Linked DNA regions of Homo sapiens: regions 2, 3, 4 and 5 are each linked to region 1. The links are contacts of gene promoters, found by promoter capture Hi-C in blood cells and fetal thymus (Javierre and others, 2016). All regions are on one chromosome and are shown on one strand. The core of a region is centred on a gene start or on the middle of the fragment in contact, and the rest is flanking DNA. Distances in the headings are between cores, read along the strand shown.

The links. Contacts are between HindIII fragments. The CHiCAGO score rates a contact against its expected background, and 5 or more counts as called.
Region 2: a contact is called between a fragment that was not itself captured here and the fragment with the promoter of CRTAM in region 1, in 12 of 17 cell types (megakaryocytes, naive CD8 T cells, naive B cells and 9 more). The highest score is 10.4, in megakaryocytes.
Region 3: a contact is called between a fragment that was not itself captured here and the fragment with the promoter of CRTAM in region 1, in 2 of 17 cell types (total CD8 T cells and naive CD8 T cells). The highest score is 6.8, in total CD8 T cells.
Region 4: a fragment that was not itself captured here is called in contact with the fragment with the promoter of CRTAM in region 1 in 2 of 17 cell types (naive CD8 T cells and total CD8 T cells); the score reaches 9.5 in naive CD8 T cells.
Region 5: a fragment that was not itself captured here is called in contact with the fragment with the promoter of CRTAM in region 1 in 1 of 17 cell types (naive CD8 T cells); the score reaches 5.9 in naive CD8 T cells.

The regions. Positions count from the first base shown.
Region 1 is chr11:122,837,203-122,839,867 of GRCh38, forward strand. CRTAM (cytotoxic and regulatory T cell molecule) reads left to right here and starts at 1,298. Exons shown (of 10, transcript NM_019604.4): 1 at 1,298-1,390. The coding sequence starts at 1,345. The HindIII fragment of the contact is 4,925 bases long and covers 1-1,655 here.
Region 2 is chr11:122,632,711-122,635,375 of GRCh38, forward strand. No RefSeq gene overlaps it. Among named protein-coding and RNA genes, the nearest start is that of UBASH3B, 22 kb to the right of the region's middle. The HindIII fragment of the contact is 2,858 bases long and covers 1-2,665 here.
Region 3 is chr11:123,027,585-123,030,249 of GRCh38, forward strand. No RefSeq gene overlaps it. Among named protein-coding and RNA genes, the nearest start is that of SNORD14E, 29 kb to the right of the region's middle. The HindIII fragment of the contact is 2,618 bases long and covers 1-2,615 here.
Region 4 is chr11:122,680,785-122,683,449 of GRCh38, forward strand. The region is part of intron 1 of UBASH3B (ubiquitin associated and SH3 domain containing B); the gene reads left to right. Among named protein-coding and RNA genes, the nearest start is that of UBASH3B, 26 kb to the left of the region's middle. The HindIII fragment of the contact is 1,214 bases long and covers 753-1,966 here.
Region 5 is chr11:122,699,587-122,702,251 of GRCh38, forward strand. All of the region lies in intron 1 of UBASH3B (ubiquitin associated and SH3 domain containing B), which reads left to right. Among named protein-coding and RNA genes, the nearest start is that of UBASH3B, 45 kb to the left of the region's middle. The HindIII fragment of the contact is 1,103 bases long and covers 782-1,884 here.

The sequences.
Region 1 (2,665 bases), core at 48-2,547:
AAGCATTGCAGACTGATCTCTGTTTTCTAAACATAAACTTACTAATATTTTACTGTGTGCTCCTGGAAAAACTACATTAAATCTATCTCAATTTGTCCAATTAATGAAAATTAAATACCAGAACTGTTCATATGTACATTGTCTCCCCCACTAGATTATATTCTCCTGAAAAACAAGGAATTTATGTTTTTTATTTGAGCATGTCTCAAAGTAGTGCATACTAGATGCTGTACAGGTGACAAGATGAATGGGTGGATAGAAGGATGGATGGATGGATGGATGGATGGATGGATGGACGGACGGACATATGTATAGATAGATGGGTGGGTAAATGGATGAATGAGTGGGTGAATGGATGAATGCGTGGGTGGATAGATAGATGGGTGGTTGGGTGGATGGATGAGTATTTGCATGTATAGATAGATGGGTGGGTGAATGAATAGGTCATGGACGGATGGATGGATGGATAGATGGATGGGTGAATGGATGGATGGGTGGATAAATGGATGGATGGATGGATGGATGGATGGATGGATGGATGGATGGATGGATGGATAGATGGATAGATGGATGGATAAATAGATGGATGGCTGGCTGGCTGGATGGATGGAGAGATGGATGGATGTGTGGATGAATAGATGGATGGATGGGTGGATGGGGAATGAGTGGGCAGGTAATACATGAGTGAGTGGGTGGATGGAAGGATAAATGGATGGGTGGATGGATGTGTGGGTGGATGGATGGAAGGATGGATGGATGGATAGGTGGATGAATAGATTTGTATTTGTGAGTGGGTGGATGAAAAGATGGGTGGATGGGTGGGTGGACAGATATATAGATTTCAAAAATGAGTATATCTATATGAATGAATGAATTCCTCCCCGACAACAATTATAAATTGATGTCAGCATAGAAATAAAATATTCCCAAAGGTTGAGCAAAAATTATCTAATTGTATTTATCTAATAAACTAGAAAAGTAAAAATAAGGATGACGTCACTACACAGGGACATTTTACAGTATTTCTCCCACCCATGCTCCCTCTAAAAACCTTGCAACTAGTTGATTTACCAGTACTACCCACTTGTGGTAAAACAATTTTTGTCACCAACACATCACTCACACCTCTCTGCCATCAAGATAATACATGTGGTCCCCAAAATGTTCCACCAGGAGGTGTTCTGGGGGCAGCTAACTAAGAGGGGGCTTCCAGACAGATGGAGGAGTTGATACACATGAGGTCACAGATCTACTGCCTCTCCCCCTTTAAAAGAAACTACTCAGCTCCATTTGTCTCAGAATCTAGAGGAAGTTGACAAAGGTGCCACAGCAGCACAGCACAGTATGTGGTGGAGAGTTCTCAGCTTGCTGGCATGGTTCCCCTTGCAAGGTAAGGACTTAGAGTTATTTTTGTTGTTGCTCAGCTGACTTAATGTTTTGCCACATCTACCTATCAGTCAGTCAACTGCATTTACAGAGGAGCTGCTGTAGAAGACAACCCAGGTAACTGCTAATACTTTCCAAGCCATGCTCAAATCATGCATCTGAGGGATGTTACTGCGTTTATTTGATCTCTCGTTCAATGGCTAAGGAGTATAGAAAGGATCATTATAGTGTGTGTCTCTGTGGGTCCTATGTTACGGCAAGATGAAACAAGCTTATTAGGCTCTGTCTTTTAAGGGCATACCAGTTGAAAGAGCATCCGTATTGAATTTTATTTTATTTTATTTATTTATTTATTTATGAGACACAGTCTCGCTCTGTCGCCCAGGCTGGAGTGCAGCGGCACGACCTCGGCTCACTGCAAGCTCCGCCTCCCGGGTTCACGCCTTTCTCCTGCCTCAGCCTCCCAAGTAGCTGGGACTACAGGTGCCCGCCACCACCACGCCCGGCTAATTTTTTTATATTTTTAGTAGAGACGGGGTTTCACCGTGTTAGCCAGGATGGTCTCAATCTCCTGACCTCGTGATCTGCCCACCTCAGCCTCCCAAAGTGCTGGGATTACAGGCGTAAGCCACCGCGCCCGGCCTCCACGTTGAATTTTAAAATTTCCTTGCTGTATAAATCTTAGCCAAACGATTTAATCTCTTTGAAACTCAGTTTCTGCATCTTAAAATGAAAATGATAAAAACTTTTGATCCACCAAACTCCCTGGATTGTTAGAAGGATCAAATTTCAAATGTGAAAGCACTTTGAAAATGATAAAGCGCTGTGCAACACTTATTTAGCTCAGAGGTAATAATGAGACCAATGAAAACTTCGTGTTTATTTTTAAAGAGTAAGTTATACTTTACATTTTACTATAATTTTCAAATTTGGATTTTAGTGCTTAATCCTAATGTAGCATTATGAAAATTAAGGATAGAAGCAGTTACCTTTTTGGAGCAGGTCAAATTATTTTCTACCCAAAAGTGGGGGCAGGGGTGTAGGAAGTGGCTCCTGTTGTCCCTCAGTCTCTGCTTACAATTGTATCAGATTCATGCAAAGGACATCCCTCACAAATCCACTCAAAAATTTTGCTTTTTGTGTGTTTGTTACCAAATATTGAAACTGTAGTTCTGTTTCATGAAATGCACCTATCCTTCTAAATCTACATTTAATCTGGAATGGCATCTGAAGGACGCTACTTTAAAAAACTCGATTTCCTATTTTACATAGTACTTCA
Region 2 (2,665 bases), core at 59-2,558, 200 kb before region 1:
GCACTTTGGGATGCCGAGGCGAGCAGATCACCTGAGGTCAGGAATTTGAGACCAGCCTGGCCAACATGGCAAAACCTCGTCTCTACTAAAAATACAAAAATTAGTCAGGCATGGTGTCAGGTGCCTGTAGTCCCAGCTACTCGAGAGGCTGAGGCAGGAGAATCGCTTGAACATGGGAGGTAGAGGTTGCAATGAGCTGAGATCTTGTCACTACACTCCAGCCTGGGCGATGGAGCAAGACTCCATCTCTAAAATAAAATAAAATAAATAAAAATAAAAAAGAATTCTGTCTTCCTTAGAAAAAGAAGTGAATAGGAAAGGAAGTACATTTTTTAAGACTCTACATCGGACACTTTATATACATTATCCTATTTTCTCTTGAAAATGAGTATTATTATCACCTCTACTTAATCAATGCAGAAACTAATACACAAAAGTGTAATTAACTTGCCCCAGGTAATATCGCTGAGAAATAACAGTTCGAACTCAGATCCATCTGGCTACAAAGCACGTGGTTTTAAACGACCCTACACTGATTTCCCATTGTCTTCTGTATGTACACCTAGCTATTGATGGTGATGATGATGGTGATGAGGAGAATATTGATTGCAATATGCTGATTAACTCAATTACAGAATCAGGTTCTCATGGTTCTAGAACAGAAGCAAGACAATGTTAACAACCAACACAAGAGGGACCTGTAACACCAGACTATAGGGAAATAGAGAGTTTCTAAAGCCAGCCGGCCCATGCCTGAATCCCAGGAGAGAAGCAGTCCTCGCAACACTGTTGCTGCTTCCAATACAGAGAGTTCAATATTGCATTTTAATCCGTAACTGATCCTCTGATTAATTTTAAAAATTTATTTTTATTTTTATTTTTTTTAGAGACAGGGACTTGCTGTATCACCCAGGCTGGAATACAGGGACGTGATCACAGCTCACTGCAACCTCAACATCCTGGACTCGTGCAATCCTCCCACCTCAGCCTCCTGAGTAGCTGGGACTACAGGTGTGTCACCAAGCCTGGCTAATTTTTTAAGTTGTCTGTAGAATCGGGGTCTTGCTATATTCCCCAAGCTAACCTGGAACTACTAGCCTCAAGTGATTCTCCCACCTCAGCCACCCAAAGTGCTGGGATTACAGGCGCGAGACACCACATCCAGCCATTTCATTAAATTTAAATGAGTCTGTTAATAAGACATTAAGAGGCTGGGCGAGGTGGCCCTTGCCTGTAATCCCAGCACTTTGGGAGGCTGAGGGGGGCAGATCACTTGAGGCCAGCGGTTCGAGACCAGCCTGGCCAACATGGAGAAACCCCATCTCTACTAAAAATTAAATAATTAGCCTGGCATGGTGGTGGGCACCTGTAATCCCAGCTACTCAGGAGGCTGAGGCAGGAGAATCGTTTGAACCTGGGAGGTGGAGGTTGCAGTGAGCCGAGATCGTGCCACTGAACTCCAGCCTGGGTGACAGAGTGAGACTTTGTCTCAAAAAAAAAAAAAAAGACTTTAAGATGGAATTTTGCATGGATTTCAACAAAACTACATGTGGCTTCATCATATGTGACTTTGTTTATTTTTATTTTATTTCATTTAGATTTATTTATTATCTAGATTAAATACAGAAACAATTTTTATGAAAAAACATTTTTAAGTAAACAATCCAAGGCATCTATTTTGAATGGAAACAAGGAATTTTCAAATTTAATCCCAATAACAAATCCAGCATTCTCATTAAAGAAAAGATAGTCAAATAAGGTCACTATGCTCCTGGCTGAACTGTGTGTTTTCAGGAGTGGGAGCGAGTGAGAGAGGGAGAGGATCAAATATAAAAAATCCAGAAAAGAGAGGGGAAATAGAATGAGAAACAGATGGTCTCAGATTTCCAAACCGGAACATTTTTTTTCTTTTTGGGGGTTGGTTAGTTACCATTTGTAATCTGAACCAAAAAGAGGAGGCAGTTACAATTGCCTTTTAGTGACAACTCACACAGCTGGTGGTGGCTGGAAGTCAGGCCAGCAACTTCCTGGATGCAGGGTAAGGCGAGCTCCAGGCCCTTTGCCCCACCCCACACGCGGTGCCGGCTACTGTTCCTACCGCTCCTGGTGCCTTCCAGTTTAGGGCTTGGTTCAGGCTGACTGAGAGTATCTCTGGTCCCACGGAGCCAGCCTTGGTTTGGGCCCTGTGTGTGGTTTGTTGTTGTTGTTGTTGTTGTTGTTGTATTGTTTTTTGTTTTTTGAGACAGAGTCTCCCTCTGTTGCCCAGGCTGGAGTGCAGCGGCGCGATCTCAGCTCACTGCAACCTCCACCTCCCAGGTTCAAGCGATTCTCCTGCCTCAGCCTCCCTAGTAGCTGGGATTACAGGCACGCACCACCACACCCGGCTAATTTTTGTATTTTTAGTAGAGACAGGGTTTCACCATGTTGGCCAGGCTGGTCTCGAACTCCCAACCTCAAGTGATCCACTCACCTTGGCTTCCCAAAGTGCTGGGATTACAGGTGTGAGCCACCGTGCCCAGCCCTGTGTGTGGTTTTTATACTCAGCCCTATCTATAGTGTGCTGAGCACAGAGGCCCCCGGTCCAGGGTGGAGTAGGGTATATGGTGTGTCTTTGGTTCGAAAGAGAAGCGTTTACATCTGTCAAGTCCCACTTCCATATTTCCAG
Region 3 (2,665 bases), core at 57-2,556, 190 kb after region 1:
TTCCAGAACAAGTGGCATGTGAGCTGAGACCCAAAAGGCAGAACAATCAGGCTTTGCAAAAGCCTGGAATTGAGACAGGGCAAAGAGATTTGCAAAACTGAAAGAGTTCGTGGCCCAAGTGATGAGTGGTGAGAAATGAAGTCAGAGATTAGTAGGGACCAGATCATACAGGGCCTTTTCAGTGGAGTGAAAGAGCCTGGACTTCACCTTTAAGGCTGTGGAAGCCGTGGTGAGATGGAGGCAGGAGGAGCATCTCAATGGCCCTTCAGAAAGATTTCTAAGGCAGCAAAGTGGAGATTTATAGAGGAGATTCACAGCAGGCCACACTGGAGCCAGAAGAGGCGGGAGGCTTTTGTGGTGATCCAAAGAGGAGATGGTAACGTGCTGGACAAAGAGAAGTGGACAGATTGGAAAGATCCTTAGAAGGTTGAATCCTTTTGCTTTCCACTAAGATATGAGCACTATGAGAAGAGAATTTTTCAACAGCTTTATTGAGATGTTAGGCACGTACCATACAATTCACCCCTTTAAAATGTACAGTTGAATAGCGTTTAGTATATCCACAGCTGAGCATCCATTGCCAAAATAGATTTTAGAACATTTCTGTCAACCAGGCAAAATCCCATATCCATTAGTAGTCACTCCATATTTCTCCCCAAACTCCCTCCCCCAAGCCCTAGGCAACCACCTGTCTGCTTTCTATTTCTATAGATTTGCCTATAGACATTTCATAGAAATAGAATCATACAATATGGTCTTTTGTGACTGGCTTCTTTCACTTGGCATAATGTTTTCAAGGTTCTTCTATGTTGCAACATGTATCAGTACTTCATTACTTTATGGCTGACTAATATACCGTTATATGGATATGCCACATTTTATTTATCCATTCAATAGTTGGACATTTGGAGCGTTGATACTTTTTGGCTATTATGAAGAACACTGCTATGAACATTCATGTATGCATTTTTGTGTGGATGTGTGTTTTCATTTCTCTTGGTACATACCTGGGAGTGGAATTTCTAGGTCATATGGTAACGCTATGTTTAACTTTTTGAGGAATCGCAAAGCGACTGCACTATTTTACATTCCTACCAACAGTGTATGAGGAGTTCAAATGTTTAATATCTTTGCTAACACTTATTATTAGTAGTCTTTTTTACTGTAGCCATCTTGATTGGTGTGTAATGGTACTTCATTGTTGTTTTGGGTTGCAATTCCCTTATGGCCAATGATATTAAACATCTTTTCATATGCTTGTTTTGAAGCCTGCCACCTGGGTTCAAGCGATTCCCCTGCCTCAGCCTCCTGAGTAGCTGGGACTACAGGCACCCACCACCACACCTGGCTTATTTTTGTATTTTTAGTAGAGACGGGGGTTTCACCATGTTGGCCAGGCTGGTCTCAAACTCCTGACCTCAGGTGATCCACCCGCCTCAGCCTCCCAAAGTGCTGGGATTACAGGTGTGAGCCACCACGCCCATCCTCTGATGACTATTATGAATGCCTGAAGGAGAGCAACTGGTAATTACTGTGCCTCTGCTGTGTGTCAAGAGCTTTCATAAATGACCTATCATTTATTCTCTTCAATCACCTTGTTTCTACAGCACGTCCCTGATGAGCCAGTTTGATCACAGACAAAATGGAAATTATACTTCATGCTAAATGAATGACAAACCTCTTTCAAAGACTTACAAAACATTGTTTTTGTAATGTATTCTGGAGTTTTGCCATGATCAATTTCAAGAATACTGGTCTATACTTTCTAGAATTTACTTCTTCCCTCCCATGTGTACTTGTCTTTTGTTTTCTGGCACTAATTTTTTTTTTTTTTTTTGAGACGGAGTCTCCCTCTGTTGCCCGGGCTGGAGTGCAATGGCGAGATCTCAGCTCACTGCAACTTCCACCTCCCAGGTTCAAGTGATTCTCCTGCCTCAGCCTCTCAAGTAGCTGGAATTACAAGCACCTGCCATCATGCCCAGCTAATTTTCATATTTTTAGTAGAGATAGGGTTTTGCCATGTTGGCCAGGCTGGTCTTGAACTCCTGACCTCAGGTTATCCACCTGCCTCAGCCTCCCAAAGTGCTGGGATTACCGGCGTGAGCCACCACACCCAGCCATCTGGCACTAATTTTGCCCACAATTTTTTTAGCTAGAACTAACGCCATTTCCATAATCAAGTGAATTTGAGTTTACAGTTTCAGAAATACACACGACCTAGAATAAATGTCTCTGTGTCTTTCTTTCTGTGTTTCCACCTGCCTGTTACTTCCTGTAATATCAGCTGAAAGGACACAAATGTCACTTCATAGACAACTCTTACAGAGGCTCCTCAACTTCTTCCTAACATTAAGCACAGCTCGACACAAAACCAAGGGAAACTGGGCAAATTTTATTACTGGACAAATTTTATTCACTGCCCATTTTTCCATTTCCTGAGGCCCACTGGTATTTAAATGGGGTCAACTCTGATTACCTTTAGGCATATGGATGCAGGGCTAATTTTCTGAACTTATTTTCAGCATAATAGGGCATTCTCATTTCAAACAAAAAAACCCCATCATGCTTTCTTCACCTGCTCAAAGATGCAGCCCCACCATCCCCATCTCCCTAAAAGCTTTCTGCAGCCCACTAAAAATATCCAATGTTGACAGATGTAAGCTAT
Region 4 (2,665 bases), core at 110-2,609, 160 kb before region 1:
ATAACTGATTTGAAAGGAGAACCAGAGTCCTGTCTTTTCTCCTCTACAACAGAGCAGAGTAAAGGATGCGTAAAAGGCAAATTAACCTTTTTTCTGATATGTTGCAAATGGTTAGTTAAGGGCTTTTTAATGTCAGAGCTGCCGTGTCAAAGCCAAAATGCTGTGAGCAGCCGGTCCCAGGGCAATGTGTTTGTCCAGAGCAAGACCCGAGGCATTTCAATACCTGAAATAAGATACCAAAACTCTTTTTTATTTAGCAAAATAAAAGTTAGATTAGGTGCTATTCCATAACAAATGAAGTTTCGCTAGAAATTATTTAATTTATTCGTATTTGTTTTTGTTGAAACCTTGCTCTTTCATAGTAATTAATGAATCATTCATTGTAATAGTTACTTAAAAGCATAATAGAATGAATCAAGCATTCCATTTGGTTTCTTATCCATAACTGTAGGGTGTCTAAGTGATTTTTCTTGTGACAAAATCCAAGACGTTGATTTCTTTAAATCCACCCAAAATTTCTACATACATAGCCCCAACTCTGGCCCTATTTCTTCTTGTTCTAGCCAGATTCCTCAGTCAAACAGGAACAGTGCTCACAGAGGAAATGGAGTTTTGCCTTCTTGTACCTCTGATGCTTTGGTTTTGGACACAGAAAGGCAATGATGAGATTGAGAATATAAGTCCCAGACAAGCCACACTGAACAGTCCACTCTGAAATCACGTGTGTAGTAGGTCCTCGGGGAACATGGATAAGCTTCCCTCCAAAGAAAGCCGAGTCCTGGGAAGTAGGGACCTGGTCATCCACTGTTTGAATGTCCTGTTCCTTGTTCTTCCACCATGACACTGGGATAGCATGCTGTCTGCAGGGGTAATAGGCACAGGTTCATATGCATTCTTCTGTACACACATGCACACACACACACACACACAGGCACATGCATGCAAACCCACATGCTTACCCCTCTGGCTTGCTTGATCCCTTCAGGGTTTGAAAAAAAGATGCTTCTATTTGGAGGCTGGTAGAAGCCTGTTAGGTTACTGAGTACTTTTGGGGAAGGGACACAAAGAGACAAGTCATCTGTTGCCATCACACAACTGCATGGTCAGCGTGTCTGCGATCCACGATGCTCTGCCTGGGTTTGGGAAGCCTTGTGTGCTGAGTGTGGCAGCAGCAAGGCTGACTCATCACTGCCACCCAGGGTGGCCCAGCTGTCAGAACAAGATGGGCCCATCTCCTGTCTGTTCTCCCTGCCTTGTCAAAAAAGCACCAGTCGTGAATCATCTGCCCATGTACAGCCACTTGGAAGCTCGGAGGGATCACTGCGAGGATAGCGAGTGCAAATTCTCCTCCTGCGTAGTACCCTGCCAACCCTGCCGACGCACCATGAGGCCTTGGACAAATTGCTTTTTCTTAAATAATTAATTATAATAGTTTTCATTTATTTAGTAGTTGACTGTGTGGATGGTACAACGGAGCCACCAACAGACACAAGTCTGACCCACGGCACCAAGCTGCCTCTCACCGTCCAGTATGAGATCTCATCTCATCCTCGTGGCAGTTATTTGATATGGATGATAGTTATATTCCCATTTTTATAGATGGGGACGCTGAGGCGTTCACTTGTCCTGAGAAGTTCACTTGTCCCTGTTGTGGGGCAAGGAGTGACTCTAACCTTCTGACTCCAAATTCCATATTCTTTCCAGTCTGCCTTTCCCGAGTTTGTATCTTTCCCTGTAAAAAGTTGAGAAACACTTCTTTCTCCTTCATTTGGTTCCTGGAGCCTGAGATGCACGTCTCTTTCTAACCGAGAGCTTCTTTGAGGAAGATGGTAATTAGGACACTAGGGGCCAGCTCTCCTCTCATTCTCTCCTGGCAGGGCTAGAGGAATAACCCAGCTCTGGGCTGCCTGTAGCTTCCCCTCCCCTCCAAGAGGGAGCTGCACCAAGCCCAGCACTGTCACGGGGAAGCTTGCTCTGTAGAATTCACCAGCCATCCTACAGTGATTATAAATATAATAAACTACTGATTAAAAAAATTTAATGGAAATTTTCTAACTTATCCTAAGGTAGTAAGAATAGTATAACAAAACAAATGCGTCAAGCAATTCATCCTTGATCCTGTTTCATCAATACCACCCACTTCCCCACCCTCCCCATATAATTTTGAATTAAATTTTAGAGTGAGGCATGGTGGCTTATGCCTGTAATCACAAAACTCCGGGAGGCCAAGGCAGGAAGATTGCTTGAGCCCAGGAGTTGGTCTTGCGGCCAGCCTGGGCAATACAGTAAGACCCCATCTCTACAAAAAATAAGTTACCCAGGCGCATGGTGGTGCATGCCTGTAGTCACAGCTACTTGGGAGGTTGAGGTGGGAGGATCCCTTGAGCCTTGGAAGTCGAGGCTGCAGTGAGCCGCCACTGCACTCCCGCCTGGAGACAGAGTGAGACCTTGTTTCAAAAAAAAAAAAAAAAAGTCTTAGATGTATCATTTAGTCTGTATTTCAGTTTGTATCTTTAAAAGACTGTGACTATTTAAATTATGACCACAGGGCCTGGCATGGTGGCTCATACCTGTAATCCCAGCAGTGTGGGAGGCCAAGGCGGGCAGATCGCTTGAGGTCAGGAGTTGGAGACCATCCTGGCCCACATAGCAAAACCCCGTTTCT
Region 5 (2,665 bases), core at 83-2,582, 140 kb before region 1:
CTTTCTTTTTTTTTTGAAACAAGGTCTCCCTCTGCCACCAGGCTGTAGTGCAGTGGTGCAATCTCTGGTTACTGCAACCTCCGCCTCCAGGGCTCAAGCGATCCTCCCACCTCAGCCTCCTGAGTAGCTAGGACTAGAGGCAAATGCCATGACAGCCAGATAATTTTTGTATTTTTTTGTAGAGACATGGTTTCGCCATGTTGCTCTGGCTGGTCTTGAACTCCTGAGCTCAAGTAATCTACCTGCCTCGGCCTCCCAAAGTGCTGGGATTACAGGCATGAGTCACCATGCCCAGCCCAGATGACTGATATTTCAATGTCTTGTAATCTATTAAGGTTTACGTAAATATTATTGTTTAGCTTTGGAAATCGATCAAGGAATTGACAATGGTACCCAGAGCCCAGCAGTGGAACTAGAGGTCGTGTTGTTGGTGGTGCTTTATTCACTTGGCCGTATTCAGTGGGTAGGTTTGCAGCATGAGGTATCATGTGTGGGTACTAGCGGAGACCCGACATGCTGCACATCTGAGAGGCCAAGAGAAACTGAGGTAACCATCATTCCCCCGGGAGCAGCACCGCTGTTGGAGTGAGGAAGAGGTCAGTCTCTTATGATTAGGTAGAGATCCAATTCCTCAACACTTTGAACTAGCACAAAGTCCCCAGTGCTGAATGAGATGGGCTGACATCATAAGCTTTGTCTCCTCCTTTGTTTAGGCTCTGACCAGAGTTACACATGGTGAGTCCATTTTTAAAATTCATTTCCCAAGTTTGGGATTTTGTTAAGCTTTATGGTTTAGTGGATACAGTTAACAATTCTTTTCCAAACACCATTACATCTTAAGTTTTTTTCACATTTTTCAATGTAAATGTTCATATGTTCATCTTACTCACTCTCATAGTTTACTTCTGATCTTTTTTTTTTTTTTTTTGAGATGGAGTCTCGCTCTGTCACCTAGTCTGAAGTGCAGTGGCATGATATCGGCTCACTGCAACCTCCACCTCCCGGGTTCAAACAATTCTCCTGCCTCAGCCTCCCCAGTAGCTGGGATTACAGGTGCTCACCACCACACCCAGCTAAATTTTGTATTTTTAGTAGAGATGGGGTTTCACCATGTTGGTCAAGCTGGTCTTGAACTCCTGGCCTCAGGTGATCCACCCTCCTCGGCCTCCCAAAGCGCTGGGAATATAGGCATGAGCCAAAGCACCTGGCCTACTTCTGATCTTGATGTTAACAGTAGGGGATGCAATTTGTAGAGGAAGTGTGTTTCTGACAGGTGAGAGAACACTTCATGTAGGGTGAACAGTAAACTGTCCCAGACAGGGATGTGCTATGTAGATGAGCACTGGGAAGCCTGTGTTTTCTCAGAGCTCCTGAAGACACCCTGCTCCACATTAAACCAGAATCATCACGTCTCATCACAAAAAGAACATTAGTGTTATGGGGTATATTTTCTGTTTCATATTAAAAATTCCCAACCCCCAGCATTCTGACCCTGTCAAGCCCACGGGCTGCTACTAATTTGCATGGTTGTGTGATTTGTGTGATTCTGCTCCATCTGCTTTGAATTTCTTGGCTTCTTTGTCCAAGACGTTAATAACTCTAGTCATTTCTTGTGAGGATTTAAGGATGTTATTGATTGATTTTGGATTACAAAGAAACAAAAAGACAGTAGGCAATGTTCTAATTGGGTCTTCTTATTGTGCACTGTAGCCTGAATCCCCCAGGGTAATTAATATGAAGTGCAAAAAGTTGAATGTTCCAGTCTAAAAGGCAGTGGGAGAAATTACATAGCATGGAAATAATAAAATGAACTCTTATTAATGAGAACGAGGCTCTTGCAGTGGCAAGTTCTGCTGGTCACCCGATGGGGATGGGAGCCTTTCAAGCTTTTTTTTGGGTAATACTCACAGTTTCCAACGTCTGTGTACTTTTCAAAATGAGCTTGTTCTTCCTTCTGACACTCATCTCAAAGCTCCATGGTGACGCAGAGGTCTGTTGAAGGTCACAGGGTCCTCGCTTGCATTGGCATACGGTCCTGTAGCATCACTTGTTAGCCCACTGCTGCTTGAAGGAACTAAGAGTATTCAGGGATAGAGAGCTGAAAATAGGATTAATTCTTTCCTTTTGACTCTCCCCTCAAGATGTCCTTGCTTTGGTCTGAAAACCTCTCCTGACAACTTTTGCCCAAAGCAAACCATCTGCCTTTTCTGAACTCTGAGTGAATATATTAGCATCTTCCCTTCTGAGCCCTCGTACTGCCATGTTTGTTTGTTTGTTTGTTTCCAAGAAACTGTGTCTTGCTCTGTCACCCAGGCTGGCATGTAGTGGCATGATCATGCTCACCGCAGCCTCAAACTCCTGGGCTCACGTGATCCTCCTGCCTCGGCCTCCCAAAATGCTGGGATTACAAGTGTGAACCACCACGCCCAGCTGTAATGCCACATTTCAATCTTCCCTCCCAGTGAAGACGACCGTTTCTTTGAGGACAGATGCTGTGTTCTTTACTTCTCTATGTCTCCCTTAGTCCTAACATGTGGCTTCCAAGTAATGCAGCGTATGCTCAACCAAGAGGGATGGTCAGCAAACAGCCCATGAGGAAAAGTAGCATTTGTTCCTAGGAAAACCGAATTATTTGCTTTAGTAATGAATCCAAGTCCAACATAGT